Linked DNA regions of Homo sapiens: all the other regions are linked to region 5. Evidence: promoter capture Hi-C in 16 types of primary human blood cells and fetal thymus (Javierre and others, 2016). All regions are on one chromosome and are shown on one strand. The core of a region is centred on a gene start or on the middle of the fragment in contact, and the rest is flanking DNA. Distances in the headings are between cores, read along the strand shown. Region 1 holds the start of LRCH1 (leucine rich repeats and calponin homology domain containing 1). Region 2 holds the start of DIAPH3 (diaphanous related formin 3). Region 3 holds the start of TPT1 (tumor protein, translationally-controlled 1). Region 4 holds the start of ZC3H13 (zinc finger CCCH-type containing 13). Region 5 holds the start of SUGT1 (SGT1 assembly cochaperone of MIS12 kinetochore complex). Region 6 holds the start of TSC22D1 (TSC22 domain family member 1). Region 7 holds the start of COG3 (component of oligomeric golgi complex 3).

What was found. Contacts are between HindIII fragments. The CHiCAGO score rates a contact against its expected background, and 5 or more counts as called.
Region 1: a contact is called between the fragment with the promoter of LRCH1 here and the fragment with the promoter of SUGT1 in region 5, in 1 of 17 cell types (naive CD8 T cells). The highest score is 5.4, in naive CD8 T cells.
Region 2: a contact is called between the fragment with the promoter of DIAPH3 here and the fragment with the promoter of SUGT1 in region 5, in 2 of 17 cell types (total CD8 T cells and naive CD8 T cells). The highest score is 6.7, in total CD8 T cells.
Region 3: the fragment with the promoter of TPT1 here is called in contact with the fragment with the promoter of SUGT1 in region 5 in 1 of 17 cell types (non-activated CD4 T cells); the score reaches 5.5 in non-activated CD4 T cells.
Region 4: the fragment with the promoter of ZC3H13 here is called in contact with the fragment with the promoter of SUGT1 in region 5 in 2 of 17 cell types (non-activated CD4 T cells and total CD8 T cells); the score reaches 8.9 in non-activated CD4 T cells.
Region 6: the fragment with the promoter of TSC22D1 here is called in contact with the fragment with the promoter of SUGT1 in region 5 in 3 of 17 cell types (naive CD8 T cells, activated CD4 T cells and total CD4 T cells); the score reaches 7.6 in naive CD8 T cells.
Region 7: the fragment with the promoter of COG3 here is called in contact with the fragment with the promoter of SUGT1 in region 5 in 3 of 17 cell types (monocytes, total B cells and naive B cells); the score reaches 13.9 in monocytes.

The regions. Positions count from the first base shown.
Region 1 is chr13:46,551,778-46,554,477 of GRCh38, forward strand. LRCH1 (leucine rich repeats and calponin homology domain containing 1) reads left to right here and starts at 1,393. Exons shown (of 20, transcript NM_001164211.2): 1 at 1,393-1,926. The coding sequence starts at 1,620. RefSeq lists silencers at 1,337-1,526, 1,587-1,646 and enhancers at 1,850-2,550, 2,207-2,526. The HindIII fragment of the contact is 3,547 bases long and covers 238-2,700 here.
Region 2 is chr13:60,162,496-60,165,195 of GRCh38, forward strand. It overlaps DIAPH3 (diaphanous related formin 3), which reads right to left and starts at 1,433. Exons shown (of 28, transcript NM_001042517.2): 1 at 1,092-1,433. The coding sequence starts at 1,271. LOC105370227 (a long non-coding RNA gene) reads left to right here and starts at 1,562. Exons shown (of 2, transcript XR_942001.2): 1 at 1,562-1,704. RefSeq lists an enhancer at 1,822-1,871. The HindIII fragment of the contact is 7,568 bases long and covers 1-2,700 here.
Region 3 is chr13:45,339,891-45,342,601 of GRCh38, forward strand. TPT1 (tumor protein, translationally-controlled 1) reads right to left here and starts at 1,293. Exons shown (of 6, transcript NM_003295.4): 1 at 1,152-1,293; 2 at 822-895; 3 at 104-294. The coding sequence starts at 1,179. TPT1-AS1 (TPT1 antisense RNA 1) reads left to right here and starts at 1,455. Exons shown (of 11, transcript NR_024458.1): 1 at 1,455-1,497. LOC124903169 (a long non-coding RNA gene) reads left to right here and starts at 1,544. Exons shown (of 2, transcript XR_007063781.1): 1 at 1,544-1,740. RefSeq lists an enhancer at 363-1,152 and silencers at 1,050-1,119, 1,200-1,309, 1,470-1,669. The HindIII fragment of the contact is 2,255 bases long and covers 1-2,042 here.
Region 4 is chr13:46,051,284-46,054,057 of GRCh38, forward strand. ZC3H13 (zinc finger CCCH-type containing 13) reads right to left here and starts at 1,463. Exons shown (of 19, transcript NM_001330564.2): 1 at 1,121-1,463. CPB2 (carboxypeptidase B2) reads right to left here. Exons shown (of 11, transcript NM_001872.5): 11 at 1,903-2,515. The coding sequence ends at 2,331. It overlaps CPB2-AS1 (CPB2 antisense RNA 1), which reads left to right and starts at 1,565. Exons shown (of 3, transcript NR_046227.1): 1 at 1,565-1,682. RefSeq lists enhancers at 647-1,183, 1,184-1,719, 1,249-1,418, 1,429-1,628. The HindIII fragment of the contact is 2,282 bases long and covers 97-2,378 here.
Region 5 is chr13:52,651,575-52,654,283 of GRCh38, forward strand. SUGT1 (SGT1 assembly cochaperone of MIS12 kinetochore complex) reads left to right here and starts at 1,262. Exons shown (of 13, transcript NM_006704.5): 1 at 1,262-1,384; 2 at 1,472-1,529. The coding sequence starts at 1,347. SUGT1-DT (SUGT1 divergent transcript) reads right to left here and starts at 733. Exons shown (of 1, transcript NR_170300.1): 1 at 1-733. RefSeq lists enhancers at 563-902, 1,012-1,513, 1,623-1,742 and a silencer at 993-1,262. The HindIII fragment of the contact is 4,517 bases long and covers 1-2,709 here.
Region 6 is chr13:44,574,894-44,577,618 of GRCh38, forward strand. It overlaps TSC22D1 (TSC22 domain family member 1), which reads right to left and starts at 1,437. Exons shown (of 3, transcript NM_183422.4): 1 at 1-1,437. The coding sequence starts at 1,181. TSC22D1-AS1 (TSC22D1 antisense RNA 1) reads left to right here and starts at 1,003. Exons shown (of 3, transcript NR_038381.1): 1 at 1,003-1,377; 2 at 2,149-2,284. RefSeq lists an enhancer at 910-1,149 and silencers at 1,470-2,179, 2,190-2,429, 2,700-2,725. The HindIII fragment of the contact is 6,017 bases long and covers 1-2,725 here.
Region 7 is chr13:45,463,422-45,466,269 of GRCh38, forward strand. COG3 (component of oligomeric golgi complex 3) reads left to right here and starts at 1,518. Exons shown (of 23, transcript NM_031431.4): 1 at 1,518-1,789. The coding sequence starts at 1,616. The HindIII fragment of the contact is 5,472 bases long and covers 1-2,848 here.

The DNA of each region.
Region 1 (2,700 bases), core at 143-2,642, 6.1 Mb before region 5:
TAAGTGCCGAGTCCATGAAGTCACCAGTTCCAGCCTGTTGTCTAGGCCATCAAACTTATGTATTACCACTTAAAAAACCAGCTCCCCTACTCCAAGGGTTGCATTACTTTCGTGCTTGACACCCCGACAACCCCGCACCCACCCCCCGACTCATTTTCCCCAAGCCAAGTCGCTCATAGGGGACAATCAAGCCTTAAGAATAGAGCAAAAATAAAGGCCCTGGAAAGTTGGACATGAAGCTTTAACTTCAGGAAAGGAATGGTATTCTATTAATCGTCCAGCTGGTCTGCCCTTAGGGTGTCAGATGTTCTCTGTCGCCCCTGGTGTGCCAGCATTGGCCTGGGTGCCACTGGGTGGCTGATGGCAGAATGTGAATTCACTTGCAAGCGGACATGTTCGTTTCCATGCCCCAAAGCGGGAAGAAGAAGGGCACAAGGAGACTTCGATGGTTCTTTCAGCTCAGACTCGAGCTGTGACTGATTTGCTGTTTGGGGTCACTGGCTTTCTAGCCTCTCCTGGCACCACCCAATTTCGGGGAGCAGCCAGCTCATCTTTCTCCTACGACAATGTCTTCTGTCCCCCATAAACACTGCCCTCATTTTGAGTTTTTCTTTCCTATGTCTGTAGCTTTCTTCTGCCGCTCAGCAAACACTCTGTCCCACTCGTATTCGTCCCTTGGCGCTGGCGTCTGGCCCAGGGGTACACTGTGAAGGAGGGCAACCCTAGATTCTGAGGGCCCTAGCTCGAATCTAGCGCCCCTCTAACTGCAGGGGTGACCTTAGATACATTTATTAACTTCCTCTGTAGACTCAGGGGAACAACTTTGGCACTCCTGGGGTCCCTGGATTAATGAGGTAACTTACGTAGACTCCCTAAACAAGCGTCTGGTTCATTGTAAGCGCCCAAATGCCAGGGGGCATCTGCAGGGATGACCCCATAGTGAATGAAAACTGCCTCTTGGGGATCTCTGGGTTAAACGGCCAGAATAAATCGCAGAATTGAGAGAACCCTCTCCTGCCCCAAACCTCACTGTACTGTAAATCCCATTCATTGCCTCCCGCCGTTTTATCCGTGTTCTCAGACCACCCCCCTATCCCCGCAACCTCCAGTCCCCTAAAGCCTCCTGGGCGGCAAAAGGACGCCCAGAGAGAGGTTCGGCGCCTCAGTTGCCCCGGAGCAGACGTCCAGCCCCGCCGTGTACCCGATTGCGGGGCGGATCGCGGCAAGGCGGCGGCGGCCGGCAGAATAGGCGCGGAGGAAGGCTCAGGCGGGGCAGACTGCGTGGGGGAAGGAGGAGGAGAGAGCAGACGGCGGAGGAGGGCAGAGCAGCCGGGGGGAGGGCGCAGGGGCGGGAGGAGACACATGCGCGCTGCCGCCGCCGCCGCCGCCGCCGCAGTCCTTAGCTTCCCGGGGACAGGAAACCTTCAAGACCGAGCTGCCACGGCCGCCTCCCCGCCCGCCCCCCATTCTACGCGCCTGCCCACACCCTCCTCCCCTCCTTCCAGCGCCTTTCGGTGGAGCACTGCGGCACTCAGCCCGAGCTGCCGTTTTCCCCTCGCGGGGAACGCTGTGACCCCCCCGCAGGAGCGGCGGGGCGGGGTGGGGGGGCCCGGGAGAAGATGGCGACGCCGGGAAGCGAACCCCAACCTTTCGTCCCGGCCCTTTCGGTAGCTACTCTGCACCCACTTCATCATCCCCACCACCACCACCACCACCATCAGCACCACGGAGGAACCGGCGCCCCCGGCGGGGCGGGTGGTGGCGGCGGTGGCAGCGGGGGCTTCAACCTGCCCTTGAACCGGGGTCTGGAGCGCGCGCTTGAGGAGGCGGCCAACTCCGGGGGGCTGAACCTGAGCGCCAGGAAATTGAAGGAATTTCCCCGTACCGCAGCCCCCGGGCACGACCTCTCGGACACGGTGCAGGCAGGTGAGTGAGGGCCGAGGGGCGGGCAGGGGTGTGGGTGCTGTCTGGGTGTCTGTCGTGCGTTCCCTAACGCGGTGGACAGTCGGAGATCTTGTCTTGCTGGGGGAGGGAGGGTCCATCGGCCCGTTGTCTCCCGAAGAAGGGACTCGCGTGGGCGCGGAAGAAGCGGGCCCTGGAGAGGGCACGGGGGCCCTGCCTGGTCCGGCGATGCAGTGCCAGGAGGGCAGGGGTGCGCCGGGCCTCTGCGCCTGAGAGCGAGGGGTCTCCGGCTCTCCACCCTGTGGCTGCCGCGCCAGGGAAGTAACCGCGGGGCTGGGACTTGCAGGCGCGCCGCGTGCGCGCAGTGTAAGTGGGAGGTTTCAGGCGGCTGTGTCGGCTTCCTGGGCCCCGCGCAGGGCTGGGAACTCCAGCGCGGACAGCGGCGTCGGCGCCTCCAACCAGTTCAAGCCGTCTTTGCATCGAGGCGTAGCCCATCCTGGTGGGGAAACCCAGACAAAGGTGGCACGCCCTCGGCCGAGCCAGGGGCATCGGCGCAGTGCCGCGAGCCCCCTCGGCGACATCGCCGAGCGATCGGGCAACTCGGTGCCGCCTGTGAGGTGCCCAAGTTTCCTCTCCCTGCGCTTGTGCGGGAAAAGAGCCGCCGGGCTTGTAGTGAATCCCAGTCGGCTGCCGCTTCGGAAGCGATCGGCCCTCTTCCTTCCGTGCCTTTTGCTCACCGCCCACACAGTTTGGGTCCTACCACCGAGGCTACCTGGTTCTCAGTTACCCAACCGTTGC
Region 2 (2,700 bases), core at 183-2,682, 7.5 Mb after region 5:
ACTTGATCCTTCTGCAAAATGTCACTATTCCTATGACCATTTTGATACTTAATTTGGCATAATTAATCTATGCTGTTCCTCATTTTCAATTAATCTATGCTGTTTCTCATTTTCAGTATTCTGATATATCTCATGTATCAGAATATGGGCTCTCAGTCTTATTCAACTATTATTTTTAACTAAATGTTATAGTTAGCAACTGGTTCACAAACCATTATTCCCTTAATTTGTGAATCATGACTTAAATTTCTCACAATTTTTACTTGCCCACATAAGGCAAATGCTGTACTCTCTCTCTCTCTCTCTCTCTCTCTCACACACACACACACACACACACACACACACACACAGTTTTTCCATATTCCTAAGGAAAATGGTGGAGTGGTCAATGTGAAATTTCAATTCTGTTGGACTCATCCCAAATCTATCAACCCTCTATGTGATTTATTTACACACACAAACCCCAAAATAATCATCACTGCCTATACTTTCACTAGTTGACACCAACGAAAAGACAAGGTGTTAATCATGACACTTTCCTTAAGTGTTAAACACAAGCAAACCAGAATAGCAAGTTTCAAATATTTAGAATTCTTTCCAAGCTAAGCAAAACATTCTTTAGCAGTGACCACACCACCCGCCAAGTTCTAAAACTAGCTGTTTCAACTTGGAAAATTATATCTACCTTAAAAGTTCTTATATGTAATTAAAAGTTCTTATTAAAATAATAAGCAGAAAAAAAACCTGTCACCTAAAAGTTCATTTTGATATATCTTATACCCTCTTACACTAGGGAGGAAGGGAGAACTTCGACTTAAAAAATGCAATGTCCACCTAGATGACGTCAATACATATACACGTTTGAACTGCTTTTCACATCAGCGTTAAGAAATTTGGGGGCAACACAAAGATCTGGGCATTTGTCACAGGATCCAACTACAACTAGACCCGGTCGTTGTCAATCTATGATCTTTGGCACCTCTGGATCTCTAGAATAAAACTTGGTCCCCAAGTTCTTGTGGGCCCACCCTCGGCAGTCAGCCCTACGGCGGGGCGGGAGCGGCCCCACCCTAGCTCCAGGCGATACTCACAAACTTGGGGCGCTTCTCCCCAGGCTCCTCGGGGCCACTGGGCGGCGGAGGGTGTTGGGGGCCCTTCCTGCGCGGCATCTTGCTTTCCCGGCAGCCGCGGAGAGAGGCTGAGGAAGGGTAGGGAGTCCCAGCGGCTGAGCCTTGGGCCGGGTGGTGCAGCCGCGGCTGGTGCCGTTCCATCTTTCCCCGCAGCTCCGGGGACCGGAAAGAAGGTGGCCACTCAGCAAGCCGCAAGCTGGAAGCTGAGGGATCGACAACAGGTTTTACTCCCGGGGTCCGCCACCCAAACAGTCAGCACAGCCTAGCCCAACCGCTGAAGTCGGGGCCGCAGCCAACACATCTGAAAACTCCCGCCACCCGTGTTGGCCCGGGACTGGCCAATCCCGCGCCGCCGGATCAATGACACGCTGAGGCACCGCCCCTTCCGGGCACTGCGAAACATGATTGGCCTTGCGGCCTGTCTATGCAGCCGCTCAACCCTTCCGGCGGTCCAGGCCGCTCACCTTAAGGACGCAGAGTGGCGTCAGATTTGGAGAAGCGCCGGGGACCGTGGAGGAAGTCATCGGCCTGGATTTCTTTGGATTTGCAGATAGGGTTCCAGCAGAACTGGAAGGTGGGCGAGACAGGCCCTGCGCCACCATTTGAGCAGCGCTGGGATATAAAACCATCTGCTAGCCCTCTCCTTGCACGTCTGGGGCTGGAAAAAGTAGTTCTGGGACTGGGTACGGTGCTGGAAGGGGTACTAGGCAGGATGAAACGACGGGGCCCACGACGCTCCAAAAGGAAGCCTTCTGGACATATTTCCTGCCTAAGTGCTCGCTCTGGGGTGGCAGAGGGGTCCACCCAAAATCAGACAGAGCTAGGCTAGGCTGAGCCCTTCAGGAGCTCACAGTCTCCTGTAGTTTCCAAACCCTAACACAATTAACCAAGGAATGTAAATGTCTATAGCAGTTGTTTTAGAAGTTCCTTGAGAACAAAAAGGGAAGTTATTAAATCTGAAGGAGTGGATCTGGAAAGGTAAAAGGAAAGCTGCATAGGTTTTCACTAGGCAGGAAACAGTGGCAGGGCATTCATTTAAAAGGCATTCCATTCCAGGCAGGAGCAAGGCCAAGAAAGCATAGAGGTGAAGAAACTTTAAGGTCACATAACAAAGGGCCTTGAACTGAAACCATGCAAAAGAGTTTGTTGTGTAAACCCAAGGTCAAGCTACAAGGCAAACACCGTTTTCTCAACACATCAATATACCCTCTTTAAAAATGAGCTTTTCCTTGGAACTATTCCTTTAAGATATCTGTCTTCTGATTATATGGAGGTGGTGTAGGCCAAGACTCGGAAACATGCAGTATTGATTTTGGTACAAGAAACAACTCTAGGTACTCTGAGGAGTTTGGCACAGAGGTTCAAAAAATGAGCCTTAGTTCTCAGTAAGTCTTCACACTACAGCTTTTCTTTTTTAATATTTGTTTTACTGTGCCAGACTCTACAGCTCTGTCCTCAAAGAGCACATAATCTTTAGGGAAACTTACAGGAGAACAGCAAGGTCAGGAGAACTACAAGTAGTTCCTTATATCTTGATGACAGACCCAGATACAGATTTTATTCCTGCCAT
Region 3 (2,711 bases), core at 43-2,542, 7.3 Mb before region 5:
CTTTCACAAAAGTATACCCACTGCGAAAGAACCTCAAAAGTTAGCCAATCTTTAAATCCTGTAAGATTCTAGACATCAGCTAGGTACTGCCAGTATCACTTACGATTTCATGTAATCTTTGATGTACTTCTTGTAGGCTTCTTTTGTGAAACTTGTTTCCTGCAGGTGATGGTTCATGACAATATCGACACCAGTGATTACTGTGCTTTCGGTACCTTCGCCCTCGGGGCCTTCAGCGGAGGCATTTCCACCAATGAGCGAGTCATCAATGTTACCTTCTGTCCTACTGACCATCTGCATTAAGAAAAAGCAGTATAATTGCAAAAGACACAAACGCATCCAAAGCACCTTCCACGCCAATAGTTCACGGATAAGAAGTATTCTTAGTTCTTGCTGAAAATAAAAAAAGCACCATTTTGGGAATAAAGTTGTGACCCGTGGATTTCTCAAAACGACCTAACTTAAAAGAGTTGTCTGTTGGCCGGAACAAAAAATGGGGTCATTAAAAAGTTGTTTCCAGTTGCGGGCATGTGATGCCTCCGGTTGGTAAGTGGGGACAGGACAAACACGAAAGGACTCCAGGCTCCTAAGCCGGAAGCATCATGTCCCGGACAACCCCGGGAGGAGGATGGGCGCCGAGGCGGCGGGCCTATTTCCAGGATCAGCTCCGCCTCCAGTTTTCTAGAAAAACCCAAGCCCGGAAAGAGCGTCTCCTCCGCCAGGAGGCGGCGGGGAGGATTGCACAACCTCAGGCGGGGGAGCGGAGGAAACCCGAGCCCGCTCGGCCCGGACTCCCCCACGCGCAGGCCCGACCGACTCACCTTCCCCTCCACCTCCAGGCACAACCCGTCCGCGATCTCCCGGATCTTGTAGATGTCGGAGAACATCTCATCGTCTGCCGGATACACAGAGCCGCCCATCACCGTGCGCCTGGCGCCGCCATTTCCCGCATTTCCCGCGCCGGCGGCCGCACGCGGGATCTGCCCCTCCGTAGCACACCAGAGCTGGGCGCGAGCCCCGGGCACCGACCCCTCCGCGCTCGGCTAAGACCGCCGGCGTCCCCTAGGCCCGCGACGGCTGCGCCTTCCCCGCCCCCACCCGCACCCCAGACCCCCGTGTGCGGCAGTAAGGATAGTGCAGTGAGGACTCACGGCTGATGAGGTCCCGGTAGATAATCATGATGGCGACTGAAGGGAGACGACGACGGCGCTAGCTTAGCACGAGCCTGAAACTCGGAGCGAGCGCGGTGCAGCCGGAGCGGCGCTCGGGGGGAGGGGGGAGCGGGCGGAAAAGGCCGACTCAGCCGCTCCCCAACCTCATATAGAGGGCACGTCCCTCTACGTCATCGCCCGCTGCGCCTCCGGAAGCGACGCAGGCGGTGACGTGGCACGAAGAGCCGCGCGGGGGCGGGGCCACAGCGGGGGCGAGTCGGGGAGGTGAGCATCCGGGGACTTGAGGCGGAGACACAAGGCTCCGTTCCACTGGGCACGCCAGCGGGTAGGGGTGGGGGCGGGGAGGTGCGCGCGCAGCGTGGGAGGAGGCCAACTCTCGGGGCGCTCCCTAGCCCTGGGTGGGTGGAGCGGGGGAAGCGGAGTACGTTGGACCCGGCTCCGCCCTACCCCACGGGGCCGCCTGGAGAGGTGCTGGGAGCTGGGTGGAGCTTAGAGGAATTAAACTTTGGCCCTGCGCCTCGTCCAGCCTAGGTTCCACCCTTTTCTGGGAACGTGAGTATCAACCAAGGTAGGAGAACGTCGCATTTAGGGAGGGTCAGGCCCTCTGGCCTGGGGTAGATCTCGGGACTGCCCGAGGGCCTCTGACAACTTTTCAGCATCTGCCCCAGGGCTGCCCCAGCTGGAGTTTTTGGGACGCTTTTGTGGGGGCACCGCTGAGTCCGGATAGTGGGACCCAAGTCGTCCTGCTCGGCCCCTGGGGAATAATCGTGTGGGGCGCAAGGTCTGTGGGAAGGGACTTGGAGAGGAGGGAAGATGTCACGGGAGTCTGCACAGGGTTTCCATGTGTTCCAATTTTGTCCCATAATTGAAAGCTTGTGGCATTCTGTGGCGGACGGCTACGGAGCTAGCTCTTCCCTTTACTATTTCGCACTTGGTCTTGGAAAAGTATGTTGTCGCTTTAAGATGAAGTTGAAATTTTATCCCTGGTGCTAGAGGGTCACACAAAGGGAGTTTCCCACCTGCCCCACCTGTTTTTTGAAGGACTTTACACCCAATTACTAAGTATTAAAACAAAACAGGTCCTGCATGGTAGCTCATGCCTGTAATCCCAGAACTTTGGGAGGCAACTACTGAAACCCTGTCTCTACACACACACACACACACACAAATTAAAAATTAATTGGGTGCGGTGGTGCCTGCCTGTAATCCCAGCTATTAGGGAGGCTGAGCTGGGAGGATCGCTTGAGCCCGGGAGTTGGAGGTTACACTGAGCTATGATTGCACCACTGCGCTCCAGCCTGAATGACAGAGCAAGACCTTGGCTCAATAGCAAAACAAAACTTCCGTATTTAGTCACATCGTCACATCTTTGGCATAAGGCAAAGATACATGCCAGTATGAAGTCTGAAAGCTTGTTCTATTTCGCAAATATTTTGTGCTTTGTATCCCTTAGAACTAGGATTTGCACCAAGATTCCAATTGTGAACAAGTTCGATCCAGTCCTACTTATAGAAGTGTTCATTCTGGTAAATCAAAGTA
Region 4 (2,774 bases), core at 213-2,712, 6.6 Mb before region 5:
AGAGGCATACATTTGATAAAACTGAATCCTACCAGATGCACAGAGTGAAAGCCTTAGTTTCAGAGTGCAACTATTTTTAAAGCCGCAATTGTTACAAGCTTGCATCAACTTTGCTAGTCTCTAGTTGAAACTGTCATCTGTTATAATCTAAATAGTTCATTAAGAAAATAAAAATTATTTGAAAATCTATAGATTGTATTCACAAAACGCTCCAATATATTGTACTAAAGCCAGTAATTTCAAATGTTACAGAACTAGACCCCGCTAACTGGCACCATATACCCATAGACTGAACTGCATAAGTATTTATTCTCCAACGGTATCGCGGACTTCGAAAACTTGAGGTGTAAAGATGTTTTCCAAATTTTTAAAACTACTTTAAAAATCCAAAAATCTTAAGAGACTTCATACTCCCATAATTTTCAAAGTAGTTCGAATTACCTGAAAGCCCCATAGTATAACCAAATACCTTAAGACTACCCTTCACAAACAACATCTTACCAACATAATTCAAGTATTATCAACTCTAAATAATTTTCAAACCACATAAATTGCGTTAGCCTATTACAGAGAGATAATGCCGCCAAACAGACTCTCTTCTTTCTATTCCACTTTCCCCCGTTTCTGACAGTTGCCAAAACTACCTACCTAAGGCTTGTGAAGATAAAGTAGCACTCAATTCCCAGGACCTAAATCGTTATCACTGCTGAGGGAAAAAAAAAAAAACAAGACCAATCACAAGTAAGATGTTTTTCTCTAACAGATCTGGAATGAGTATAGAGGAAGATTCTAAATTTAAGCCCAAATTGCTGCACCCTTCCATCGCACACAAATACGAACACCATACAAGGGTTCCCGTGCTTACATCAAATGGTAACGAGGGGTACAGCCTATTGTCTGAGTCTACTTATCGCCCTTAGACAAATGCCAGAATCATAATCAGAGTGAGAAATTACGCCTGAGCACAGGGGGCTATTGCAGAGTTAAGGGTGGGATGCTCAAGGAAAGCTCAAAATCCCAGTGACTCAAGCAAAGACGGGGGGGGGTAACCCGGGCCTCCGCATTACGGGTCCGCTCAATGCCTTCCCCAGATACCCACACCAATTCACAGAACGCTTACTTCCTCCCCAAGCTCCCTTCGCAAGTGCAGTCCGGAGGCACCACCGCCGCCGCCGCTCCGAGGAGCGGGGGAGGCGACTCTGTCCCCGCGCCTGGACCCAGGAGGACGACGACGAGGAGAAAGCGATGCGCGCGCGGCTCCCGGGAACCGGCTCTTGGCTAGCGAGGAGCCCCCGGGATGGCTGAGAAGCAGAACCAACCCGCCCGCCGCCTCTCCAGGGTCAAGCGAAACTGGGTCGCAGGAAGAAAAATAACGAAGAGATTGTAGATTAAGAAAAGGCAACAAAAACACTACCAGGCCGCTAGGAGGACCGCCTCAAAATGCCGCCGGAAGTCAGAGGTTTGCCCTGTTCCTCTGTAGACCCAGGCAGCTTCCGGCCGTCAGATTAGTCGTCAGTGCGCAGACACCACCCTTCGTGGACACGCCCTCTAGGCGTAAGGTTCCATGCGAGCGGTAAGAGTGCGGCGGGACTTGGAAATCGAATCTGTGCTCTGTGAGAGATCCTAGGAAAGGAAACTGGGAGCCCGGGAGAACTAAAATTCCCAATTAAAAGTGAATTTAAGTGAGTTTTCTCTTTTTATTACATAATTCCTTACCATAAACAGCTGTTGTAAATGCGCAAAATGCGGCATTTGTTGACAGTACCTAGAGCCACTCATTCATTCGTTCAACAGTGTTTATTGAGCAGCTGAGCTGGAATGAGAGGCTATGTTTGTCGTTTTTGACACCCCTCCCCTTTCTGGGCCATCGCCTAATTACCGTGGAGCAAACGGAATGCATGGTTGTATTTCTAAAGGCACAAGCAGAAATTTATTGAAAATTTGGAGCAGAAATCTTTAATGTACTTCTGACCACCCTTCCTTTTGTTGAGTAGGATCCAATGATCAGCGTGAGATGATCATTGATTAAACTTGCTTGAGATGGCTAGTCAAACGTCGAAACTTGCTTGAGATGGCTAGTCAAACGTCGAAAATCAAAGAAAAAGTAGGTAACTAGACTTTTACAATTTTTTTTAAAGGGTAAAAAGACATGAACCCTAGTCTGCCTTAATGGCAAAGTAGCACTTATTAGGTTCTCTGACAGAACCAAGGAATAGGAAAATCTTTTATCAAAACTACGGATAAAACTTAAAAATAATTTGATACAATGATTTGGTCTTGCTGGAATCAGTAAATTAAAATACGGAAGCAGAATGATAAAATCAGGGGCATTAAACATTCCTAATGACATGCCAAGCTATTTTAGAGACAGCGGCAAAAGCTTCTCTACAGGTGGGTTTGATGTAACGCTCCGGCAGCAAGAATCCGTATGTGCCCGTATCTCGAAGTTCAATTGTAAACGAATATTTGATGCCCAAATCATAGATCCAATCGTCCCCACCTCCAGGAGCTAGGTCTAAAAGAAGAAGAAAGAAATTGTTGAAATACAGACGTTTCAAATTAATTTACAAACTGGGAATTGTTTGATTTAAATGTTTATTTGTTTGTATACCTTTAGATTTTTTTCAGTTTTTAACTAATATAAACAACTTTACAATGAGTACCCTTGTTTATACATAATTGCTTCTTTGTCTCTTTAGAATATTCTTCCCTAGAATAGATTTGCTAGTCTAAGGCTCTGTACTTTTTGCAATTACGGCATGTTCCCAAATGGA
Region 5 (2,709 bases), core at 12-2,511:
TAACATTGTATACAAAACACTAAATACTCAAGAATAAATCTAATGAAAGATATATATGATCTCTATACTGCAATCTATCCAAGCACAGCTGCATTAAAATATAGATATATGTGCAATCTACAAAATATTGCCAGGAGAAATTAAAGACCGCTTAAATAAATGGTGGGGGAAGAATGATATTCATGGATTGAAGGACTTGTTGTTAAGATACTAGTTTTCCCAAACAGATCTATAGATTCAATGCGAGCCCAATAAAAAATCCCCCCCCTTTTTAACAAGCTAATTCCAAAATTCACCTAGAAATACAAAGGCCGTAGAATAAGCCAAAACAATCTTGGGAGAATAAGTTACAGGACTTAAAGATTTATTATAAAACTACATTAAATTAACATAGTTTGGTACTGGTATAAAGTTAGACAAAGACTACTCCCTCCCGCTCCTCAATCTGCCCCCATCCCTAGAACGTGCTGGCAGCTTTCTCCATCCGATCTGCAAGGGTTAAAGGGCGCTGAGGAAGGGCTGACCGACTGGGGTGGGAAACAAAGCGGCACTGAGATAACTTCAGGCCACCTTCCTCCCCTCAGTACCTTCGGATGAAAGGTTTCCCTTCTTGGTCTGGGAAGCCCACTAAGAAGAAAGCCTGGGCTGTGGCGTTCTGGGGAAGTGAATAGTACGGCCGCCGGGCGCGTCGCCCCAGGAACCAGAAGGCTTTTTGCCGCTATTAGTGCAGAATGACTTCCGGCAAGTCCCAGTCGTTTAGAATCCCCAGCCCAAAGATCGCGGGGATCCACGCGTCATCCGGGCCTCTGCTCCCGGAAGAGACCACGCAGCCGCTAAAGACGTAATGGAGGCGAAAGGGCTTGGCTAGCTGTGGCAGCCATGATAAAAACTAGGGAAAATGGGAGCTCGAAGTAGCTTCCGTTATTAACAGACATACAAACGCCCCTAACCGCCACACGTTCCTTAGGGATGACAGTACGTTACAAAAGTGCTTCTAAAGTACTACTGAAAGCTCCGTGGGAGTGCCCGCTGGCGTGGGCGCGGTGGAAGGGAGGAAGAACGTGTACGCCCCAGGCCTCCGTAACCATGGCTGCGAGGGGCGGGGACTGGGAGCGCGGGTCCTGGGCCGGGGTGCGGCTGGGAGGAATCGGTCCTCCACTGTCCCAGCCGGCCCCGCGCCGGCGTGTCGCCTCCCGTCCCCCTAGCAGCACGCTGCGTGGCTGCTCGCTGGCTATTTAGGACGGAAGCTCGGTTGGTGTTTCTCCAGAAGTTTCCCCCTTGGGCGGTGGTGGAGGTGGTAACCGTGATAGTAGCAGCTCCGGCGGCAGCAACAGCGACTACGAGGGATGGCGGCGGCTGCAGCAGGAACTGCAACATCCCAGAGGTGCATGTTTTTCTTTCCCTTTGGTATTTATTTTATCCCCCTTTCCTTGGCTAGTGAGCCCTGCTGAAGTCGTTGTTTTCCTGACAGGTTTTTCCAGAGCTTCTCGGATGCCCTAATCGACGAGGACCCCCAGGCGGCGTTAGAGGTGAGAGAGCCCATTTCTGCTTCCTCCACTCTTCTTAGGGGAGCTGGGCCACTTCGGGTCCCCGCTGACCCGCCTTCTCCCCGCACCGCCGGACAGGGACCCAGGCTCTTGTTGATGCTGCGTCTCAGCTCCGGTATTGAGATTCTCCGTCTCTTTTCTCTGTTACACGGTAGCCGCGTTACCCCAGACTCCTGTCTTGCCCTTTCCACTCCCTACAGCTCCTGAGAAAAACCTCCTCTATTTCTTGGGAGCATGGTTGGCATTTGTAGTTTGGCTGAAAGGATTTTTTTTTTAATGACATTTATGATTAGAGAAGTGGACTCTGGGCTCGATGAAGTTAATTTTTTCGTTTGACAATAATTCTTGCCATTCTTACGTAAAAGTGTCGGTATGAAGTCAGTCTACTGGAGCAAAACCCTTTTCCCTCACGTCCCTGAAACTTTCCAGATGTCTTATCACAATTCATTATTCACTCATTTGTATATTCATCAAAATTTTTTTTTGGAGTGGCTGTGTGCAAAGGCGCTGATTGCTGTGGGTTAAAGTCTTGGTTATATACTCAGCTAACCTAGAAATCACTTTTTGTAGGTGTGCAATGAAGGCAAACCATAAAGCTGTAAAGGAATGTAAAAGATCAAGAGTTAAATAATAAGAATTAAAGGAGAACCTAAAGATAAATGATGCTGCGGGTCACAGAATTTAGCCAGGAGTTTTTGTTTGTTTTTGCGTTAAATCACAGAAAAGAGGAAACCTGTTTTGCTGTTACGTTTAACAATTTGAGGCAAGACAGCGTCTTTTCTAGCTATGACTTTTATAAGAAATGTGCCACATGGTACTAGAGCCTCCGTTGAGGAGATCTTTGAGTGGAGATTTGAAGGAACAAGGGAATTAACTTGGAAGCTCTGGGGAAAGAATATTCCAGGCAGGACCAAGAGCCAGTGCAGATCTTGAGGTAGGAATGAAGTTGGCCTGTATGTGAAGCAACAAAAAGGCCCTTTTTATTAGAGGGCCCATTTGATTAAGAGAGGTTGGACAGGAAACTAGGAGCCAGGTCCTATAAGGCCTTTTAGGGTCCAGGTGTGTTTTTTACACCTAAATATATAGACCTTTAGATACTGGGAGTAAGGCTTCTGGGATGAGTTTGGGGATAATGTTACAGGAAGCACTGAGAATTTTTCTC
Region 6 (2,725 bases), core at 187-2,686, 8.1 Mb before region 5:
GAAACCGATCCCCCAGTCATCCCTGCAGCTGCATTAGGAACACTGCTAACAGCAGCAGAGGAAGAAATAGTACCATTGCCCATGCCACTCAAGATATTCACATTAACACCACTGGTAACTCCAGGCCCAACACTCACACCAGCAGCACTAGGAATATTGCTTGTACTTATATTAACATTACCAAGCATGCTGCTTGTCACATTAGGATTAAAACTACCCACAGCAGTAATGTTAACATTATTTACTGTACTAGTGCCAGTAACAGAATTTATACCTATTCCACCTGTAGTACTTGGAGCACGCATATTAGTCATTACAGATGCAGGTGAACCACTGGATGATACAGCAGAAGTTGGTGCAACTGGTGTGATACTGTCAGAGCTTCCAGTTGTAGAGAGTTTTCTAGATACTGGGCTTGAGGGTGGCCCACCAGTAATGGATGCACTGGCCACAGCAACATGAGATGGATGGTGGTGACCATGTTGGAGGTGGTGCCCATGATGAATCTGATGGTGGTGATGGAGGTGGTGTGGATGAGCATTCCCATTGATCACAACATTCTGTTGTGGAAGGTGAGGCAAATGAGGCTGAGGAAGGTGGGGCTGGTTGGGAGAGACTGCCCCAGGTGTCTCGGCTTCCTGGAAGTTATTTAGGGTCTCTTCTGAGGAGCTGCGTTCGGGCTCCCCTAAGTCAGTAGCCCTGGAAAGTGACACATCAAGGATCTCCGAAGAAGAGAGATCTTCCGTGTGAGATTCATCCAGATCATCATAGCTCTCAGTGTCCTCTGCTATACTGTTGTTAGAGCTGATACTAGCGGAGATCTGAGCAGGAGTAACGCTAGTTATCTGGAAGCCACTTTTCTTTTTCATTTGAGTTCCGCCTGGCGCAAGAGGCTGTGCCTGCAGCTGAGCCTGCGAAAGGAGGTTCAGGCTTTGTGGAGGCGGAGGCTGTGGTCCCGACGTAGAAGATGCTGCAGGGGGCGGCGGCTGAAGCAGCGACGGAGGCGGAAAATCCTCGGAAGATGTGGCATTACTACCGACGCCGGTACCTGCTGCATTGAGAGCAGAGGCGCTGCCACTACCGCTGCCCCTTCGAGGGAACATTGCCGGGTGCGCCATCTTCCTAGCGCTAATGTCTGCAGCGGCGGCGGCCGCGGCGGTGGACTCAGGCGGCTGGTGCATTGTGTTGGGTACCGGGGGCGCGGAGGAGACGAGTGCAATTTCCTTCTGCACCGTAATCTTTGTATTGGAGACGCCGGAGAGGAAAACGGGACCTGACGCTCCGCCTGGCGCGATTCCTCCTTCTCCTCCTCCTCAGCCAAAGGCGCCGGTCGCTCCTGCCTTCGAGAGCGAGCTTCGGAAAGGAGGATGAACGAGGGTGAACAGGGCGGCCGGGGACCCGAAGGGGGGATCCCTTCAGTCCTTCGCCATTCACTTTCCCCTCTAGCCTCACACCCCCCTTTATATTCTGCTTCACGTGGGGTGCGGGGCAGGAGGGAGGGGGAGAGCGCAGGAAGGGGAGGAAAAGCGAGAAATGCCCACCTTCTCCGGCCAACTCCGAAGCCGCCTCAGCCCCCTCCTCCCGCCGCGTCGGCGGCCGCTGCAAAGCCCTCCCGGCCGCTCTGCACGGAGGCAGCGCCAAGCAAATGTCGCCTTCCCCTCGCCACCCCCGGGGCCGCCGCCGCCGCCAGCGAGCCCCGAGCTCAGTGTCGCTCAAACCTCCCCTCCCGGCCCCGCTCGGCCCTCCCCCCGCGCCCCGCAGACCCTTTCAAACCCCCTGGGCTCGCGGCGGCTGCTCGGTGAGGAAACGCTGGCCGCGGCTGGGGCCGGGGCGACGCGGCTGCGAGCGGGGCGGCGGCGAGGCGCCCGGTACGGTGAGCCCAGCAACGAGGCGCGGGCGGGCGCGCAGAGACGCCGGGTCCTCGCGGAGCACGGCCGGGGCGCGGCGGCGGCGGTGGCAGCGGGAGCCCAGGGACCGCTCCATCACTGGCAGCCATGGAGCCCGAGCATTTTCCTCCCTCAGGGCAGGCGCCTCGACTCGGCACACGTCCTCGGGGAGGAAGGGGCCGGCACCCGAGCCTCTCCGGAGGGCGGCGGGACGTGCGCTAGGGCGGAGGGTGCGACCCTCTCTTATCCTCTTCCTCCGCAGCCGGCTCTTCCTCACCCCGCTGCTCCCGCGACCGGGCGGGAGAGGGCCGCAGGCGGCGGCGGCTCCTTTCTCCGCGGCGTTGGTGGCCAGACGGGCTGGTGCAGCGACTGCAGCCGACGCCGTTCAAAGGAACGAGGTGGGGTTGGTCGGTGTCGGCAAACGGGGCGGGGGAGTGAGTGGGTGCCGAGGGAGGGTGTCGGGCGGGGAGGGGGCTGTGGTGGTTGTTACTAGTGCTCTTCTTCGGCTCCCCCGGCTCCACCGTATCCCCCAGTCTCTCGCGGCATCGGGAGGGGAGGGACCAGCGCGGAGCGCAGGAGGAGGAGGGGCGACCGCCGGCGAGAGGAGGCGGTGGTGGCTGGGGGGAGGGGGCAGGCGGAGGAGGAGGAGGGAAGATGGCGTCTGCGCATGCGCCTCGGCGCCGCAGACATAAAGCCGGGTCTGGCGGGGCAGGAGGCGGCGGGTCTTCGGGCCTAGGCGAGCGCCAGGTCTCCCGACGGAAATTACCGAAGGCTGGCAGAGGCGCCGAAGCCGGGAGTGGTGGAGCCGGAGGGGATAGTGGGGGTGGGGAATTCCGGCC
Region 7 (2,848 bases), core at 268-2,767, 7.2 Mb before region 5:
TAAAATTCTCTTCCAACTTCAAATTCTATTCTTTTTTTTTTTGAGACAGAGTTTAGCTCTTGTTGCCCAGGCTGGAGTGCAATGGTGCAACGTTGGCTCACAGCAACCTCCGCCTCCTGGGTTCAAGCGATTCTCCTGCCTCAGCCTCCCGAGTAGCTGGGATTACAGGCATGCACCTCCACGCGCAGCTAAGTTTTTTTGTATTTTTAGTAGAGACGGGATTTCTCCATGTTGATCAGGCTGGTCTCGAACTCCCGACCTCAGGTAATCCGCCCACCTCGGCTTCCCAGAGTGCTGGGATTACAGGTGTGAGCCACTGCGCCCGGTCTCAAATTCTGCTCTTAAAAGATCAGAGCCTTCATTTGGGAACATAGCCAGGCACTGATTTGTGCTATAAAGCCTGAATAAAGCCTTCAGACTTTACCCAGACAATGGTCAAAATTGCTACGAAGCTGTTTCCACCTGCCTTGACTCCAGGGAGGAGCAGGAAGAGGCCTCCATAACTTGTAGAAGATTGTCTGTTCTCCACCATTTATTTATTCAATCGTTTATTTATAGCAGTATGGACTCATGGGTATTTATTTTATTCTGTAAATTATGATCCAATACTATCATTATTTATTTTGTTGCTCAAATCTACAATATGATTTAAATGGTAGAGTAGAATTACATGTCTGTACCACAAATTATTATTATTATACATTTTGAGACAGTCTCACTTGATGCCCAGGCCGGAATGCAGTGGCAAGATCTCTGCTCACTGCAACGTCCACCTTCCAGGTTCAGGAGATTCTCCTGCCTCAGCCTCTCAGGCTGATTACTGGCATGTGCCACCACGCCTGGCTAATTTTTGTGCTTTTAGTAGAGACGGGGTTCAACCATGTTGGCCAGTCTGGTCTCAAACTCCTGACCTCAGGTGATACGCCCACCTCGGTCTCCCAAAGTGCTGAGATTACAGGCCTGAGCCCCCGCGCCTGGTCTGTGCCACAAATTCTTGATCCAGTTCTTCAATGTTGGACATTTAGGTTGTCTCCAGTTATTTGATACCATTAATGATGTCTGAGATACACACATCTTTGAATTTTTTATGTGTTTCCGTAAATTAGTTTTCTAGTAGGGGAATTACTGGATGTTGGAAAAGTTTATGCTTTTGGTTTTGATCCAAGAGGCATAAATTGTCAACATGCCAACATGGAAATCATACACTCCACACATTCTACCCAGACTACCCAGCTGTAAGCAGAGAGGTGTAGATCCAAGTCTCCTGCCGGCAGGGTGATTTAGCGCAGTTGTCAATAATCTGTACAACACGTAACAATAAAGTTATTGATGTTGAGGAAAAGACTTCCGGTAGGGGCATTTCTATTTCCATTGGGTCCTGTCTTCTCCACCTTCTACGTTTCAACCGGAAATAGTCGTACCCATTTAAAGCCACGTCGGTACTGGCCTCGGTCCCGCCCCCCACACTGCGGAACCGTTTCCGGGGTCAGGGCATTCCGTCCCGCCCCGCCGCCGGTGCAGTGTTGGAAGCTCCGGTTCTCCCGGAAGTGGCCCAGGTCTCTCTGTCGGGGTCCCCTCCATCTCGCTGCTGCTGAAGGCCGCGAGGGCGGCGGCGATGGCGGAGGCGGCGCTGTTGCTGCTGCCTGAGGCGGCGGCGGAGCGGGACGCTAGGGAAAAGCTGGCTCTCTGGGATCGGAGACCGGACACGACGGCGCCGCTGACCGACAGGCAGACGGACTCGGTATTGGAGCTGAAGGCGGCGGCAGAGAACTTGCCGGTGCCAGCTGAGGTGAGGTGATGGGCAGGAACCGGGCCGGGGCGATGGGGCTGGGATTCTCCTCGGGCGCCCCGGCAGGACCCCGGCCTCACTAGCCTCTGCCCAGGATATCTCTCCACTCCTCCCTGGCCATGGTGGCGGATCCGGTGGGAGGGGCCTCATCTCCCAGGCTGTCAGGCTTCGCTCTGCCTGCGACCCCGACTCTAATTCTGCCTGGGGACGGCTGTGGGGGTGTCCTGCAGCTGGTGCTCGCCGGAACCCAGTCCTCCCCCAGCAGCATGGGACGGTTGGCCCGGAGCCTTGCACCGAACGTTTTGCCCCAGACGAGGCGTCCTGTCAGCCGAGGCGTAATCCTGCTGCCCACTCTCTCCCAGAAGGAGAGGCAGTCAACCCGAGGTGCTGTGCTGCAGGACAGTCTCCAGCGCGTGCTCGTTTACCGCCTTAATGATTCACCTAGGTTGCTTTGTCCATGGGGGTCTTGGGGAGACCAAAACTTGGTCCTGAGTGAGTTTCATTTATCGCACATTGAACTATGAGCTCTCAATCAAGTGCAAGTTATGGGAGATCAGATTTATTTCACCTATTGCAAAGCAATAAAAATGAATTTTATTTGAAAGTTGGCTCAGTACATTATTAAGCAGTGCTGGTTTTCGGTGTTAGAGTCAATGTGTTTAATCCACTTACCATTAGGATATTATGCACTACTGCTTCTTGTGTGATTCAATTCAATTAGTTGTAATAGCAGGAAGTAACATGAATTGTCAGATGTTTGACAAACGTTTTCCAGTTTTGAGGGCCAGGTTTAGGAGGATTATTTTATATAAGCAGTGGTGATGGTTACTTTTGATGTTGGAAGCATTCTTTTCTCTCGCTCTGTCGCCCAGGCTGGAGTGCAGTGGCGTGACCTCGGCTCACTGCAACCTCCACCTCCCGGGTTCAAGCGATTCTCCTGTCTCAGCCTCCCGAGTAGCTGGGATCACAGGTGCCTGCCACTACACCCGGCTAATTTTTTGTATTTTTAGTAGAGATGGGGTTTCGCCCTGTTGTCCAGGCTGTTCTCGAACTCCTGAC